2 separate regions of the Homo sapiens genome follow, and region 2 is linked to region 1. Evidence: promoter capture Hi-C in 16 types of primary human blood cells and fetal thymus (Javierre and others, 2016). All regions are on one chromosome and are shown on one strand. Each heading gives the region's core, a stretch centred on a gene start or on the middle of the fragment in contact. The rest is flanking DNA. Distances are from core to core; before and after follow the strand shown. Region 1 holds the start of SLC45A2 (solute carrier family 45 member 2). Region 2 holds the start of RXFP3 (relaxin family peptide receptor 3).

The links. Contacts are between HindIII fragments. The CHiCAGO score rates a contact against its expected background, and 5 or more counts as called.
Region 2: the fragment with the promoter of RXFP3 here is called in contact with the fragment with the promoter of SLC45A2 in region 1 in 13 of 17 cell types (neutrophils, activated CD4 T cells, naive CD8 T cells and 10 more); the score reaches 18.3 in neutrophils.

Annotation. Positions count from the first base shown.
Region 1 is chr5:33,983,245-33,985,944 of GRCh38, reverse strand. SLC45A2 (solute carrier family 45 member 2) reads left to right here and starts at 1,252. Exons shown (of 7, transcript NM_016180.5): 1 at 1,252-1,746. The coding sequence starts at 1,362. The HindIII fragment of the contact is 8,753 bases long and covers 1-2,700 here.
Region 2 is chr5:33,935,056-33,937,755 of GRCh38, reverse strand. It overlaps RXFP3 (relaxin family peptide receptor 3), which reads right to left and starts at 1,370. Exons shown (of 1, transcript NM_016568.3): 1 at 1-1,370. The coding sequence starts at 1,015. The HindIII fragment of the contact is 5,701 bases long and covers 1-2,446 here.

The DNA of each region.
Region 1 (2,700 bases), core at 3-2,502:
AAGCCGTGTGTGATGTGTAATAACACGTGTGTGAGAGAGAAGCTATGTGTGCAATCATGTGTAATAGCATGTGTGTGTGAGAGAAGCCATGAGTCCGATCATGTGTAATAACGAGAAAAGCCCCATGTGTGATCATGTGTAATAGTGTGTGTGAGAGAAAAGCCATGTGTGTGGTCATGTGTAATAATGTGTATGAGAGAGAAGCCGTGTGTGATCGTTGTGTAATAACGTGTGTGAGAGAGAAACCATGTGTGATCATGTGCAATAGCATGTGTGTGTGAGAGAAGCCATGTGTGATCATGTGCAATAGTGTGTGAGAGAGAAGCTGTCATGTGTAATAATGTGTGAGAGAAGCCATGTATGATCATGTGTAATAACGTGAGAGAAGCCATGTGTGACCATGTGTAATAACGTGTGTGAGAGAAGCCATGTGTGTGGTCATGTGTAATAAAATGCATGAGAAGCCATGTGTGATCATGTGTAATAGCATGTGAGAGAGAAGCCATGTATGATCATGTGTAATAACGCATGTGAGAGAAGCCATGTGTGACCATGTGTAATGTGTGTGAGAGAAGCCATGTGTGATCATGTGTAATAGCATGTGTGTGAGAAGCCATGTGTATGATCATGTGTAATAACATGCATGAGAGAAGCCGTGTGTGATCATGTGTAATAGCATGTATGTGAGAAACCATGTGTGATCATGTGTAATGTGTGTGAGAGAAGCCATGTGTGTGATCATGTGTAATAGCATGTGTGTGAGAAGCCGTGTGTGATCATGTGTAATAGCATGTGTGTGTGAGAAGCCAGGTGTGATCACGTTTAATAGCGTGTGTGTGAGAGAAGCCATGTGTGTGATCATGTGTAATAATGTGTGTGTGAGAGAAGCCACGTGTGTGATCATGTGTAATAGCATGTGTGTGTGAGAGAGAAACCATGTGTGTGATCATGTGTAATACTGTCTGAGAGAGCCCATGTGTGTGATCACGTGTAATAACGTGTGTGTGAGAGGGAGAGAAGCCATGTGTGTGATCACGTGTAATTGTGTGTGTGTGTGAGAGAGAGAGAAAGAGAGAGGGAACAGTACAAAGGAGGATCCCTTTAGAAAAGTATTCCAACGTCTTATGGAGCCAGAGGGCTGATTCACAGCTGCTAATCTCTGTCATGCTTTCCAGCACCACCCCCTCCCTCTCATCATAACTTGTGATCTTAGAGGCAGGAAAGAATTTGAGCCCCTCCCCCAGCCTGACCATCTCTGTTGGTTGCTCGGCCAGGCTCCACGTCAAATCCAGTTTGAAACACAGACCCTAGGACCACGCAGGAGGTGGTGGGCTCGCAGGAAGGTTCCTCTCCCAGTGGCCATGGGTAGCAACAGTGGGCAGGCTGGCCGCCACATCTATAAATCCCTAGCTGATGATGGCCCCTTTGACTCTGTGGAGCCGCCTAAAAGACCCACCAGCAGACTCATCATGCACAGCATGGCCATGTTCGGAAGAGAGTTCTGCTACGCGGTGGAGGCAGCGTATGTGACCCCAGTCCTGCTCAGCGTAGGTCTGCCCAGCAGCCTGTACAGCATTGTGTGGTTCCTCAGCCCCATCCTGGGATTCCTGCTGCAGCCCGTGGTCGGATCGGCCAGCGACCACTGCCGGTCCAGGTGGGGCCGCCGGAGACCCTACATCCTCACCCTGGGAGTCATGATGCTCGTGGGCATGGCTCTGTACCTCAATGGGGCTACTGTTGTAGCAGGTAAGTGGGCTGCACAAGGTGGGCAGACAGGGATATGTGTCTTAGTGTGTACCTCTGCAGGAGGAGGATGTTCATGTGTTTGACCTTTCCTAGAAATTTGTTAGAATTGATCTCTCCTAGGTTACAATGAACTTCCCCTTTGACAAATTTGGCCCAGATTCTGTGGTTGGGGAGCCTCTACTTCTAGAAATATCAAAATAAATATGTTTCATTGTTGTGAAGATTTAAAAATAGGATTAAATTTGTATCTATTTTATTAAATTTGTATCTATTTTATCGAATTGAATATTTTTACATATTTATCAATTGAGTTACTTTTTGAGCCCATTATGCTCTATTTAATACTCTTATCAAATTGACTGGCTGCCAAATAGCTCCATAAATATTTACAATAAGTCACCTGTGTATCCAAATAAGTTAATTCTGTTCATAGTTTTATGTAGAGCGTTTTAATAGGCGTAGGGCATAAGCCCATCAGCTCAAGAGGACCTTTCTGGCATTGCAAATTCTGGACAAAAGCAAACCTGAGGGTAGGCATTTTTTCTAGCCATTAATCAGCTACCAATTAATCAGTAATTGATGGTAGTACAATAAAGTTGCATTGCAAAAAGGATCGCTAAAAATAGCACACATTTGTAGATCATTAACTCTCAAGCTAGCAGAATCGGTGATTATGAGGCAGGATAATCAATTATCATTTGTACATATTTGAAAGAAAGCGTAAATGTACAAATGTAGGATATTTCCAGGAGAATGAACAAAAAGCTGATAAGCATTGTTGACTCTAAGGAGGATTACTGAAGGACAGGAGGTGAGAAGTGGCGGGTAGACTTATTGTTCATTTAATTTTATACTGCAATTTTTAAAACGTGTATATAATCTATGCTATTCTTAAGTTTAAAAAGCAAATGGAAACAAGAGAAACAACAATGTATCTTTTATAGGAGATTGGGT
Region 2 (2,700 bases), core at 121-2,620, 48 kb after region 1:
AACACAGGAAGAAGGACAGGACAACGATGGTCACTGATTTGGTGACCTTCGACAGTCTCCGGGCGCTGGCTCCGGTCGGGCGTCCTCCGGCTACCGCGGCCCCTCCTTTGGTCCCCGCCGCGCGGCGGTCGGCGATGAAGCGCACCAGCAGCAGGTAGCACAAGATAATGATGCCCAGCGGCAGCACGAAGCCCAGCAGCACCTTCTGCGAGTGGTAGAGGCCCAGCCAGAACTGCCTGTCGCGGCCCAGCAACTTGTCCGGGAAACGCACCAGGCACAGCTCCTCGCCCATCACCTTGACCGTGGTGGAGAAAATGGCACTGGGCAGCGAGGCCAGCGCGGCCAAAGCCCAGATCCACACACACAGCGCCTTGGCCGAGAAGCAGCAGCTGTCCCCCAGGCTCCGGCCGCAGCAGTCGCCCCGGCCGTGTCCTCGGGTCCGGTGGCTCTTCAGAGCCGAGGCCACCGAATGGTAGCGCGTCACACTCATGGCAGTGAGGAAGAACACGCTGGCGTACATGTTCATGGACGTCACCATGGACACGATCTTACACATGGCCTTGCCGAAGGGCCATTTGAAGTCAAGAGCGTTCTCCACCGCCCAGAAGGGCAGGGTGAGCACAAACTGAAAGTCCGTCAGCGCCAGGTTGGTGACGAAGAGGTTGATAGAGGACTTGCGCCAGCCCTGCATGCTCTTCATCAGGTAGAGAACCAGCAGGTTGCCCGCCAACCCCAGGGCGCACACCACCCAGTACACCACGCTGATGAGAATCCGCACCCGGGCCTCTGTGTCCGCGCTCTCTGCCCCGCCGCTGCCCGGGGGATGTCCTGGCGGCGCGCCGTCCGGCAACTCCAGCCCCAGCTCCCACCACAAGTCCGGAAGCTGCAGCGACGCGTTACCACTCGTGTTGGCCGCCTCCAGAAGGTCCGGGACCAGACTGAAGAGTTCTGCTAGCTTGTCCCCGCCTGCTGCCTTATTCATGGTGGCTATCGTGGCTGCATCGGCCATCTGCATGCGCAGGTACCTCTAGGTCATGTTCTGGGGGACAAGACCTAAGATAACACGGTTTACCCCAGTTTTGTTGCCAGGCTAGCCTGCGGGACGTGCGTGGGAGCTTTCAAAGCAGCTACTGAAGAGAGAGCCCAGGAACTGGGTACTAAGCGCGTCCTGGCGCGCAGCGAACGCCCTGGACGCAGGAGTTGAGCTCAGCGGCTGCTTTGGAGCAGAGTTGAGGAGTGCAGCCCGTAAGGCAAGCACTCGGCGTCCAAGGGTTCTCAGGCCAAGCTCGGAGTCCCTAGGTCCTTATGTACAACGCAGACTTCCCCTCTCCGTGTCCCGCGGTCACTGGGGCACTGGCGCATAACTCCCCCAGCCGCTCAATTGTGCGATTTGGGGCCGCTCGCTCCCTTTCAAATACCTTTATCCGTTTCCTCTGGGACTGCTTGGATGAGGTTTCCGTCCTTGGAGAGAAAGAGATCGTAGAGTTCCATCCACCACGCTCAGCTTCCTGGAGGTCAGTGGGTGTCTGCGTCTCTCCGCGGTTGTCAACTCCGGGTGGGTTGCCAGCGGCTCTCACCAGTTACGGTGGCACTTGCACGGCCAAGGCGGCGGGCCCCAAGGAGCATGCGTAATCCCGGGGCGCCGCGAGGGGCGCTTTCCGAGGTGCTGAACCCAGCCGCGCCCGCGCCGCGAGGGAGAGTTGAGCTGCAGGCAAAGCCCACCCGCCACTCCAGTTTTCCTCTCCAGAGTTTCAGCAGGAAGGGTCTTAAGAGTTTATTTTACAGCTGCAGGAGAAAGTCGGCTTTGACGTGAGTTTCTTCTTCCTTTCTTATTCCCAAACATTATGATTAGAAGTTTTTTTTTTCTTTCTTCCTCACTCCCACTTTTCACCGGAATTATTCCATTTGGTGAGGAATTGTTCTAAAAATATGAGCTATCCTGCTTACTTTCCTTCTTGAAAGTAATAACAGTGGCCTCTTTTCATGCTCAAATGAGATAATGGGTACTTATTGGATACACAAAGGACAGCTCCACCTCCCCTCTTTAATTAGCTGACCACTTACGCAGTACCTGTGTTTGTCAGGATTTTCAAAGGGTCTTCACATGGCAGAAGTCTGGGCTCAAGGGTTGCCCCTACTTTAATGTATTCTGAGAGGTGACACAAAAACAGAGCAAACAACTGATGGTCCTACTTCACAGAAATTAAATGCCCTAAGCCCAAAGCGCTTCAACAAATTGTTTGATCACATACAGGCCACAGTCTCTTTACCTAGATGCAAATAGAATAGAGGATACCACTGGGCTGATCGTGAACCACCAGCCCTCCTATTTCCATTACTGTTAGCATCAGGACTCTTTTTCAGGCGTTTTTCAGACCAATGGAAGTACATTCTAAGGACTCTTCCAAGGGAATGAGTGGAAACCACTTGAATTACTTCTCAAGCTTCAGTCTACATAAATGCCAGGTCAATCGCTCTGGTGTAAATTACACTTTTAGGATTTACTTTAAAATTTTGAAATGTTTTCCTCTTGGTCTGGGACTAAACTGAAACCAAAGTTTCTTAAGCATAATTGTCCTCACTCCTGGAGTACTACAGAACTCCCAGCTTTACTTAAGGAGATAAAGAGGATGCAACCTTCAAGCTGAGGAGATAAGAAACAGAAAAAGAAAGAAAGAGAAAAACGAAAAAGAAAGAAAG